Regions from separate parts of the Homo sapiens genome. Here regions 2 and 3 are each linked to region 1. Evidence: promoter capture Hi-C in human tissues and cell types (Jung and others, 2019). All regions are on one chromosome and are shown on one strand. The core of a region is centred on a gene start or on the middle of the fragment in contact, and the rest is flanking DNA. Distances in the headings are between cores, read along the strand shown.

Region 1 (3,765 bases), core at 1,237-3,736:
GCATCCTCAGCGTTGGAGAATTATGAAAGGTTGACCGCTTGCTCCTGCGCCTTTTGGCAAAAATGCTTAAGAATTTGGTGACAGCTTTAAAAAACAAATTAAGAATAAAGAAAAAACCCAATCAATGACGATTATAAGTAACCCATAATGGGGGCTTCAAAGAAGAATTGGAAACTTGACATATCAATGGGGTATAGAAGAGCAGAGAATATTAATGAACATGAAGGGGGTTCTTCTTTGGAGGTAAGTAAGCAGAGTGGATTTTTTGGAACTCCCTCCTCAGCAGCTGTGCAGTTTGTAAGGATTTTAGCTTGCCTAACTGTAAGCTTAGCTATTAGCTTTGCAGTGGGGAGTATTTAAAAGTACACACAACATATGAAGGAAAGAACCTGGAACCGAGTAGCCTGCTTCATTCCAAGAATCCATCTGGCATTTAAAGAACTGCTTGTCCTACATTAAACCCTGCAGAGTAAGAGCCATTTTTCATATCCTCATACCCCTATTTTTGGTTTCAGGTAAGACAGCTTACTGAGTTTGGAGAAGGAACAAAGAGACTTTTCCGAACCACCGAACCAAAGGACTCATCTAGGGTGAGCTCAATGAATCTAAAATCGGGAACACACATTGCAGCCCCTGTTTGGGAAATCAGCTTAAGAGCAATCTCAAGTCTCCACAAGAGGCGGAGGTCCATATTCCAAAATAATGTGAGCCTTCAGTTATTTGTAGGTAGAATTCAATGGAAGAAGGGGTGTTATAGATACGAAAAATCGTGGCTGGCGTTACCAACATTAAATGACTCGTGGTGATGGGGTAAGTTGACAAGTGAAATCCAGTCTCTTCCTAAACAAACGTATCTTTGTAATGAAGAGCTCGTTTTTGCAGCTTCAGTACATCTGGAGGCATCGAATAGCAAACGCTGCCAAAGGAGTAGTCCCTGGATTATCAGGAGTTGCAGAGTGTGTAAAGTGTTGTAAACCTTGAAATTAGTCCTGGACTGAAGGCACTTTCCCTCCTCCCAGACTCGCTTCTCTCTGACACATTTCCCCTTTCAATGGAAAGTCTATGGCAGTCAGGTCCACTCAGCTCAGACTTCAAGTATGTGAGACCACAGGTTCCCACCTTAACTGGTCACCCATTGAGGGACAGCACAAGACCCCGGTGCTGGCGCCAACGCTGAGCTGCGCCCTCTCGGTTACCATGGCGACCGCAGGCGGGGCGAGGCCCCCACTCGCCGCTTCCCCGCCTCTGCCCAGAACCTTTCGAACGCTCCAATTGGGACGACCCTTTCTTGCCTCTGTCCCGCCCCATTCGGCTCTAAGCGCTTTGCGATTGGCCCGGGACGAGCGGCCTGGTACCCAGAGGGCACCACCTCCTGACAGGAAGAGCGGGAAAGTGCACCAGGAGCTGTCCGAGGCGTGAAGCTCACGGGCGCGGCGGGGGAGCACACGGTTGGCTTTGCAGCGAGTTGCCCACTGTCCCATACACAACCCCCCGCTCCCATGACTGCCAAAAGCATGGAGCAGGAGTCGGGGTGCGGGCACACCGTTTGTGGGCCGGCCCGGTCTATCCCGGGGGGCTAGGACGCGACGAGGTTGGAGCGAGGATCCGGCGGCACACTCCGGAGCGCGGAGTATCAGAGGCCAGAGGGAACGGGCCGGGCCCCGGGGGCGGTGCCGGCGGCGGCGGCGGGAGGCGCAGAGCCCAATGAGCGCGCGCACCGCCCCGGGGGCGGGGTCTGAGGAGCGCTCCCCCGCCCTTGCCAGCCCCCGTCCCTCCCCCCGGCGCGGGGCCGCAGTGAGTGAGTGGCACTGGCAGCCTGTCAATCCCTCGGCCCAGCGGCCTTCCAGCCCGGTCCGCGGCGGCTGCTGGCTGGGTGCGCGGCTCCGGCGGCGGCGGCGGCGACTTCTCCCGCCCTATCCATCGGCTGTCCGCCCGGCGCGCGGCCCGCCGGGGCCCTCCTCCGGGCTCAGCGCCCCCGCCGCCTCTGCCCGCCCGCTCCCAAACTTTCCTCCTCCGCCCCCCCTCGCTCCCCGCGGCCCGCCCGCAGGCCTCCTCCTCCGCCGCCGCCCGCCGCCGCCGCCGCTGCCTCCCCCGGGGCCGCCGGGGCTCGGATCCCGCCTGGCCGAGGCGGCGGCGGCGGCCGAGGAGGGCAGTGCGCAGGCTGGCGCGGGGGGCGGCGGGCGTCCCGGCAACTCGGCGGGCGCTGAGGAGCAAGTTGCGCGGGGCCGCCCGGCGGGGCGCGCGGCGGCGAGGAGGCGGCGCGGCGGCCGCGTGAGGGCAGCGGGCGCCGCCGCCTCCGCCTCCGCCACCGCCGCGGAGCCCGGCGCTTCCGCCCGCCGCTTCTCCTCAGCCTCGGCGGCGGCGGAAGCCGGAGCCGGGCGCCCGTCCTCATCGCCTCAGCCGCGGGCCCTGCCGGCCGGGCCGCCCCCTCCCCGCGCGGGCGGGGAGCGCGCGGCCGCCTCCCCCTCCCCCTCCCCCTCTTTCTTCTCCTCCCTCGTCGCCGCCGCCGCCGCCGCCGCCTCAGCCTTCGCCTCAGCCGCCGCCCGCTCCCGCCCGCGCGCGGCGGGATGGACGATCAATCCAGGATGCTGCAGACTCTGGCCGGGGTGAACCTGGCTGGCCACTCGGTGCAGGGGGGCATGGCCCTGCCGCCTCCCCCGCACGGCCACGAAGGGGCGGACGGCGACGGCAGGAAGCAGGACATCGGCGACATCCTCCACCAGATCATGACCATCACCGACCAGAGCTTGGACGAGGCGCAAGCAAAGTTGGTGTCGTCTCATTAAGCATCTTTTGTGTGTGTGCGGGAGCCGGGCCCGCGGCCGAGTCGAGGCCCGGGGTGGCGCCCGGGGCTAGGGCCGCAGCCCCCGGCGGGGAACTTTCTCCGAAAGCCGGCCGCCCGCCCCGGCCTCGGGGGGACTTGCCCGCGCCCCCCGAAGCGGGCGGGAGTCGGCAAAGTTGCTCTGGGGGGCTCGGGACGGACTCGGTGCGGCGCGGATTCCGTGGCGTCCTTTCCCCCGTCCTGCCCCTCGCAGCCCGGCCCCCTCCCAGGGATTTAAACCTCCCGCCCCGACCCCGTGCGGGCCGCGCCGCCGGGAAGTGTAACTTTCTCCTCCGGCGGGGAGTCCCGGCGCCGGCTCCCGCGGCCGCGGGACGACCTCGCGATGCGGGCGGCCACCCGGGCCCGGCGCGGGGCGATGGGCGGTTCCCTGGCGGGTCCGGGTGCGGACGGCCAAGTTCTCGGAGAGGGAGGGCCGCCTTGCAAACTTTGCCGAGCTGTCACCCTCCCGCTGGCCGCAGTCGGCCGGCCTCCTCTGCACAGGAGCGGACGCGGGAGCCCCTCCGCACCCGTCCCCTCCCCCGGGTCGCCTTCGCCTGCCCCCGGGGCGAGGCTCCCCGCGCGGGTTCGCGTCGCGTCTGCAGTGGCCGAGGCTGCTGCCTGCCGGGCAGATGGGTCCGCCTTGTTCCGGCTGCAGCTTTCGCCGCCGGGGCTTGCTGGCTGTCGGGAACTAGTCAACTGGAGTTTTTGTTGACTTCCCACGGTTCAAAAGGGCCTTCCAGAATGGGGGGCTGGAATTAAATCTTGGGTCTAACTTAAAGGAAGGCGCCATATTATTCCATAGGTGATGCTAATACCTTTGTGTTTCGTTATTTGTTTTTTAGGAAACATGCCCTGAACTGTCACAGAATGAAACCAGCGCTCTTCAGCGTCCTGTGTGAGATCAAAGAGAAAACAGGTAAGACGCTGCGCCCCGCAGTGGGCCT
Region 2 (4,143 bases), core at 782-3,281, 300 kb before region 1:
AGGGCAGATACTGAAACTGTACCTCCACTCGTGAGTACTGAAGTGAAAATCTGGATATGTAGAACTGTATTTACACTTATGTAAGTTTTTCAAAGTAAGACAGAGAAGATAGAATTTAATACCAAGCAGAAACTAATTAGTGGCACAAATGTCAGAAGTGGAGACGTCCAGCTTTTGTGCTTTAATTCATCTTCTGTATTATGGATTCTAACTAAAACAGGAGGCTGTGCTGAAAAAACAGGTTCTTCCTGCCAGTTCAGGGGGCGTGGCCATGTTGGAAAGGCTGCTGTGGTCATGAGATGGGATGGCTTAAACATACATGAACAGCACTCACAACCCTGCTAAAAGAGGTGCTCCCAGACTTCCACTGCAAATCAACTGAAAGAAGGGTCTTTTTTTGATTTTCAATTTTTGCTCTTTTTTTTTTGAGATGGAGTCTCACTCTGTCACCCAGGCTGGAGTGCAGTGGTGACATCTCGGCTCACTGCAACCTCTGCCTGCTGGGTTCAAGCGATTCTCCTGCCTCAGCCTCCTGAGTAGCTGGTATTACAGGTACCCCCCACCATGCCCGGCTATCATTTTTTTTACTTTCCATCTGCCTTAAGAAAAGTCTCAAGGGAGGGTCTCTTCTAACACAACCTGCCAGTACTGACTGTGGCTGGCCATGACTGGTCAGAGCTGGAGCTGCCAGAATGAGCCTGCAGCCCACCTTTGCCTAAACCCCCAGGTGTCACCACTTGCCAAAAATATAAAAATAAACCTGTTTCTTTTCCTTATTAAAAATACTAGAAATTTAGAAGACAGAGGAGAACCTCCACACCCCACCCCAAAATCCCAACACTAGCACAATGCCATTCACGGTCTCTTTCCTAACCATTCTCGCCTGTTTTCACAGTTGTAATCAGATTGTATACTAGAAGTTGAGCTTAGTTTTTTTAAGTTAACATTTTACCATACCCCTTTCCCTGTTGCAACAATTTCTATAACCACCGTTTTCAATGGCTGCATCTTATTCCAACCAGTAGACGTGAGCTATGGGTCATGTTGCTATCTCTGTTGGGCTTCTGGGTTACTTATAAAATTGCCAGTACTATAAATAAGGCTACAAAGAACAGCTTTGAGGCTTGGGATTCTTTCTCAATTCCTTTACATCAGGCATGGATACTTTTTGAAAACTCAGTTTCCAAGGTCTGATGTCTTCTGGGCCCTCTGGCCTGAGAGGGGAACATTCTCACTGGATTTCTTGGGGGAAACCGATGGGAACACACATTGTTTTAGGCAAAGCTGTATCTTTCTGTAGGTCCTAGTAGGAAATGCTGGACTGGGGTTCTTTGGTCTCTGGGCTGAAAACTCCCTCCTGGTTGGGTCTCCTCTCCACCGTAAGCAACAGTTCTGGGCTGCCTGCAGGGAGCTTCAGCTCAAGGTAATTCAACTGGCAAAAGGGAGTGCTCCTTCCCAAGCACTCCTGCGTGGGCAGCGGCCTGGGCAACCATAGTAATGACCTCTTTGACCTCTAGAGCCGGGGATGTGCCTGACCTACTTACATTTCTGCCTGGATTCTCAAACTCCCTCTCTCTCTCTCTTTGGCTCCTTCCTGTAAACATAATTAAATCTCTAATTATAAAAACTCCCATGGCAATGTGATTTCCCTCCTTCCTCTCATGTATCGAAAACATTCTTGCTAAGGTCACTATGCCCTCAATGTCGAGAGATCCAGTAGAGATTTCTCAGCTGTTTTCGACACTTCTTAAAGTCCTGGCTTCCCTGGAGGCACGGTCACCTGATTCTTGGGTCCACGTCTCCAGTCATCTGTTTCTCACATTTCCTTTGTGATCTTCTGGACCTCCACCTGTCCCTTAAGCAATGGTCTTCCTGAGTTCTATCCTTGATCAGCACCTCCTCTAACTACGTTTTTCCTGTGTCGGGTTTGCCCTTGGGTTTTAGTTACTACTCACATGTTGGTGATCCTGAAGCAGCTATGTGGCCTATACCTTTCTCCAGAGTTTCAGAGCTGAGCAGTGGGTATGGCTGCCACCTCCACATGGCCCCCAGTGCAGCATGTCCAGAACAGACATCAGCATCTCCCCTTAAATTGGCAGTTGTGGTGGCACAACTGGAGGCTTCACCACGCACCAAGTACTGGGCATTTGGTCTCCTAGTTTTCACGTTTATCTTCCGTCCCTCTCTATCCTGGGACCACAGCCCTCACCCAGGTCCTGATCATCTATTGCTTTTTCTCTGGTTTTCCTTCTTTTGATCATGTCTTCTGCAGATTCAAACATCTACTCACAGGAGTTTTTTTTTTTTTTTTTTTGAGGCAGAGTCTCGCTCTATCCCCCAGGGTGGAGCGCAGTGGCGCGATCTCAGCTCACTGCAACCTCCGCCTCCCAAGTTCAAGCCATTCTCCTGCCTCAGCCTCCAGAGTAGCTGGGATTACAGGCGCCTGCCACCACGCCAGGCTAATTTTTGTATTTTTAGTAGAGACGGGGTTTCGCCATGTTGGTCAGGCTGGTCTTGAACTCCTGACCTTGGGTGATCTGCCCGCCTTGGCCTCCTGAAGTGCTGGGATTACAGGCATGAGCCACCGCACCAGCCCGTTTTTTTGAGACAGAGTCTTCCTCTGTCACTCAGCTGGAGTGCAGTGCTGCGATCTGGGCTCACTGCAATCTCTGTCTCCTGAGTTTGAGTGATCCTCCCACCTCAGCCTCCCAAGTAGCTGGGATTACAGGCGTGCGCCACCACGCCGAGCTAATTTTTGAAATTTTTGTGGAGATGGGGTTTTGCCATGTTGGCTAGGCTAGTCTCGAACTCCTGGCCTCAAGTGATCTGCATACCTCGGCCTCTCAAAGTGCTGGGATGACAGGCGTGAGCCACTACGCCTGGCCAGGAGTCATTCTTTTAAAACATACCATCTGGACCCCCTACTTAAAACTCTGCAGTGCTTCTTTTCCTGTCATCCTCAGAATAAAGTCCAAGCTTCATAAGATGATTTTCAAGACCCCAGATCAGCAGTTCTCAAACTTTTTGGTCTCAGAAGCCCTTAATACTCTTAAACACTATTGAGGAGTCCAAAAAGCTTATGTGGATTATACCTATCAACATTTATTGTGTTAGAAATTCGGCCAGGTGTGGTGGCTCACGCCTGTAATCCCAGCACTTTGGGAGGCCAGGAGTTTGAGACCAGCCTGGCCAACATGGAGAAACCCTGTCTCTACTAAAAATACAAAAACTAGCCGGGTGTGGTGGTGTGTGCCTGAGGCTGGGCTGGGAGGCTGAGGCACGAGAATTTTGAACCTGGGAAGTGGAGGTTGCAGTAAGGCGGAATCATGTCACTGGCCACTGTACTCCAGCGTGGGTAACACAGCGGGACTCTGTCTCAAAAACAAACAAACAAACAAAAAAAGAAAATAAATGAAATTAAAACTGAGAAATTAAAAAATATATATTAACTCACTAAAATAATACACCCATTACAAATTAACATATTTTAAAATGGAAAAACCCTTATATCTCCCCAAAGTTAAATAAGAGTGGCATTATTTATTTATTTATTTATTTTTCTGAGACAGAGTCTCACTCTGTTGCCCAGGCTAGAGTGCAGTGGCATGATCTTGACTCACTGCAACCTCCACCTCCTGGGTTCAAGCAATTCTCCTGCCTCAGCCTTCTGAGTAGCTGGGCTACAGGGGTGCAACACCAGGCCTGGCTAATTTTTGTATTTTTAGTAGAGACAATAGAGATGGAGTTTCGCCATGCTGGCAAGGCTGGTCTCGTACTCCTGACCTCAGATGATCTATCTGCCTCGGCCTCTCAAAGTGTTGGGATTACAGGCGTGAGCCTCCGTACCAGCCTATTTTATGTTTTGAAATCTCTTTAACATTTGGTTGAACAGAAAACAGCTGGATTATCCAATCTGATTCTGCATTTGATCTGCTGTGATATAGTTTTGGTTAAAGTAAATGAAGAAAAGCCAGACTCCCGCAGATATGTTTTTGGAAAAGTGAGGCATATTTTAATGTTCTTCTTTGTAAATATTCCTCTTTGATACTACACTGAACTTGATAAATGGTATTTTCTTAAAGATTAGTTGCAATGTGGAATATAAACCTCATTAATAAACTTTTTTGTATTCTGTTACATTAA
Region 3 (3,900 bases), core at 261-2,760, 430 kb after region 1:
TGTTCCTGATCTTAGAGAGAGCAGTTTCAGTTTTTCTCCATTAAGCATGCTGTTAGTTGTGTGATTTTCATAAATGCTGTTTATCAGGTTGAGAAATTTTTCTTCTGTTCCTAGGTTGTTGAGTGCTTTTATCATGCAAGGGTGTTGGATTTCACTAAATTTTTTTTTAATCTATTGAGATGATCATATAGGGTCTTTCATTCTTGCTAATGTGGTGTATTATGTTGATTAATTTTTGCATGTTGAACCACCCTTGCATTACAGGGATAAACCTCACTTGGTGTTATGATGTACAATCCTTGTAATATGCTGCTGGATTCAATTTGCTAATATTTTATTAAGGATTTTTATATCTATATTCATAAAGGATATTGGTCTGTGGTTTTCTTGTGTTGTCTTTGTCTAGCTTTAGGATCAGGGTAATAGTGATCTCATGTGATAAGCTATAAAGTGTTTGCTTCTTTTCTGTTTTTTGGAAAAGTTTGAGAAATATTGGTGTTAATTCCTCTTTAAACATTTGGTAGAATTCATTAGGGAAGCCATCATCTGGTCCTGGACTTTGTTAGAAGTCTTCTGGTTACTGATTTAATCTCTTTTATTCTCATAGGTTTGCTTAGGTTTCTAGTTCATATTCAGTTAATTTTGATAGTTTCTGTGTTTTTAGGTATTTGTCTGTTTCATCTAGATTATCCAATTTGTTGGCATACAGCTGTTCATAGTATTCTCTTATAATCCTTTTTATTTCTACAAGGTCAGTAATGATATCCCACTTCATTCCTGGTTTTAATAACTGGAGTCTTCTCTCTTTTTTTCTTGACTAATCTAGCTAAGAATTTGCCAATTTTGTTGATCTGTTCAAAGGACTAACTTCTGATTTTCTCTATTGTTTTTCTATTCTCTATTTTATTTACCTCTGCTGTAATATTTTTCTCATTCTGCTTGCTTTGGCTTAATTTGCTCTTCTTTTTCTTTTCTTAAAGCATAAGCTTATTTTATTAATTTCATGTCTTTCTTCTTTTTAAATGTAGGTGTTTGCAGCTATAAATGTACCTCTGAGTATTACTTTTACTGCATCCCCTAAACTTTGGTATGTTGTATGTTTATTCTCATTTATTTCAAAGTGTTTTCTGATTTTGCTTGTGATTACTTCTTTGGCCCCTTGTTTATTTAGGACTATGTAGTTTAATTTCTACATATTTGTGAATTTTCCAAATTTCATTCTATTATTGGTTAGTAATTTCATTCCATGTGGTTAAAGAAGATACTTTGTATGATTTATATATTTTAAATATATTAAAACTTGTTTTGTGGCCTAACATGGTTTATCCTGGAGAATGTTCCATGGGTACTTGATAAGAATGTGTATTCTGCTATTGTTGGATGGAGTGTTCCATGGATGTCTGTTAAACCTAGTTGGCTTATAATGTTGTTCAGGTCCCCTATTTGCTTGCTGAACTTCTGTCTAGTTGTTGCATACATTATTGGCAGTGAAATATTGAAGTTTCCAGCTGCCACTAGTGAACTATCTATTTTCTCCCTTCAGTTCTGAAGCAGATACTGATTTGCTTTATGTATTTTGGGGCTCTGTTGTTAGATGCATATATGTTTATAATTGCAATACCTTTTTGATGGATTGGACCTTTTATCATTGTATAACGTCCTTCTTTGTGTTGTAAGAATTTTTGTCTCAAAGTCTATTTTGTCTCATATTAGTATAGTCACTCCAGCTCTGGTTACTTTTTGTATAGAATATCTTTTTGCATCCTTCTACTTTCAATATATTTGTATCTTTTAATCTAAAGTGAATCTCCTATACATGACACATAATTGGGTCATTTTTTTCAGCCATTGTGCTGTTCAATTGGAGGGTTTAATCCATTTACATTTCATGTAATTACTGATAAGGAATCACTTGCTTCTGTCATTTTGTGCCATTACAGCTTTATTTTATGTTGGATAGAGATGTTCTAAAGTACCATTTTAATTCCCTTGTCATTTCTTTTAATGTATATTTTTGAATTATTTTCTAAGTGTTCGTCCTGGGCGTTATAATTGACATGGTAATTTATAACAATCTGGCTTGGATTAATATCAACTTTCTCTCAATATTATGTAAAAACTTTGCTCCAATATAGCTTCATCTCCTTGCTTTATGTTGTAGTTGTCATGAATTATATCTTTCTTCAATGTTTGCCCATCAACAAAGATTTATAATGGCCATAACAAATCATTTATAATTATTATTTAATGCATTTGTCTTCTAAATCTTATAGAAAAATGAAGTTACAGAGAAAAAAACAATGGTACTGGCTTTTATATTTACCTATGTAAATCTATGTCTTTACCAGTTTTCTTAATTTCTTTGTATAGCTTTGGGTTACTGTCTAGTGTCCTTTCATTTCAGCTTAAAGGACTCCTGTTAATATTTCTTGTAGGGTAGGTCTACCAGCAATGAACTCTCTCAGCTTTTTTGTTTGTTTGTTCGTTTGTTTGTTTGTTTTAAATCTTGGGATGTCTTGATTTCTCCTTCATTTTTGCAGTATAATTTTGCTGAATACAGAATTTTTGATTAAGAGTTTTTTTCTCTCAGAACTTTAAATATTGCATCCTATTTCTTTCTAACCTCCATGGTTTCCGATGAGAAACTGGCTATTAATATTATTGAGGGTCCCTTGTATGTGACTAGTCACTTCTCTCTTGCCGCTTTCAGGATTCTCTCTCTGTCTTTGGCTTGAACAGTTCGTTTGGACAGTCTGTGTGGATCTCTTTAAGTTTATCTACTTGGATATTTTGATTTTCTTAAATGTGTAAATTCATGTTTTTCATCAAATTTGGGAAGTGTATTACCATTATTTCTTCAAAGGTCCTTTATTCCCCTTTCTCTCTCCTCTTCTAGGATTCCTATTATGCATATGTTGATATGTCTGATGGTGTCCCACAGATCTCTTGGGTTCTGTTCATTTATCTTCATTATTTTTTCTTTCAGTTCCTCAGACTGAATAACTTCAATGGACCTATCTTCAAATTTGATGATTCTTCCTTCTGCCTGTTCGAAAATGGTATGATCCCTCTATTTAATTTTTTATTACAGTTATTGTACTTTTTAACTCCAGAATTTCTGTTTGGTGCCTTTTTTAAATTCCTGTCTTTTTATTGGTATTTTCAGTTTGGAGAGACATTATTTGCCTGGTTTCCTTTAGCTCTTTGGTGATATCTAAAATAGCTTGTTCAAAGCCTGGATCTAGAAAGTCCAAGTCTGAGCTTCTGCAAGGGCAGTTTAGTTTCTCTTAATTGCTTTTCTCCCTATGTGTGAGCCATATGCTCTTGTTTCTTTGCACCCCCTTTCCTTTGCTTTCTGTGCACTGGATGCCCAGCCTTCTTTCCATTGTTCAGCTACATGTCTTCTCTCTTCAGAACCTTTGTCCATGCTGATCCTTTTTCCTGGAATGACTGCACGTACCCGCCCCCCTCCCAACCCCTTTACTAGTATCTTTTACCTCCTAAAGCCTCACGTTAAAATATTATCTACTTGTAAGTATGAATATTAGCTAGAAAACTGTGGTCTGCAGTAAACAAAACTGTCTTTATCTTTCTATATCTCTGAATCATTTTTGAGCTGTCACTCCATGGGCTATGGAAGGAAAGGGAGAATTACATGTTTCTATGGTTTCTACCCCTACCTTTGCCCATTTCTGGATCATGCATGGAGTGTGGCAAACCTCATGTTGCCCCATAGGACTGTCTCCTCTGGACTCACTCTGTCCCCTCACCATCAGTGAGGACTAGCCCCTTCCACTCTGGCCCCTAAAACTTCTGTTCCTCTCTTGTCTCTCCTGATAGCTGGAAATCTCTTCTTTGTATCAAAGAACTGATTCTTTCTTCATATTTCTGGCCGAGACT

Evidence for each region. Contacts are between HindIII fragments. The study calls those that stand out against the background at their distance.
Region 2: a fragment that was not itself captured here is called in contact with the fragment with the promoter of PBX3 in region 1 in 1 of the 25 tissues and cell types used here (mesendoderm cells).
Region 3: a fragment that was not itself captured here is called in contact with the fragment with the promoter of PBX3 in region 1 in 1 of the 25 tissues and cell types used here (lymphoblastoid cells).

What each region holds. Positions count from the first base shown.
Region 1 is chr9:125,744,887-125,748,651 of GRCh38, forward strand. It overlaps PBX3 (PBX homeobox 3), which reads left to right and starts at 2,487. Exons shown (of 9, transcript NM_006195.6): 1 at 2,487-2,767; 2 at 3,664-3,737. The coding sequence starts at 2,568. It overlaps PBX3-DT (PBX3 divergent transcript), which reads right to left and starts at 1,043. Exons shown (of 2, transcript NR_122032.1): 1 at 530-1,043. RefSeq lists silencers at 1,582-2,011, 2,262-2,311, 2,322-2,851, 3,122-3,461. The HindIII fragment of the contact is 5,465 bases long and covers 1-3,765 here.
Region 2 is chr9:125,449,514-125,453,656 of GRCh38, forward strand. All of the region lies in intron 10 of MAPKAP1 (MAPK associated protein 1), which reads right to left. Among named protein-coding and RNA genes, the nearest start is that of GAPVD1, 190 kb to the left of the region's middle. The HindIII fragment of the contact is 3,861 bases long and covers 102-3,962 here.
Region 3 is chr9:126,178,397-126,182,296 of GRCh38, forward strand. No RefSeq gene overlaps it. Among named protein-coding and RNA genes, the nearest start is that of MVB12B, 150 kb to the right of the region's middle. The HindIII fragment of the contact is 3,220 bases long and covers 1-3,120 here.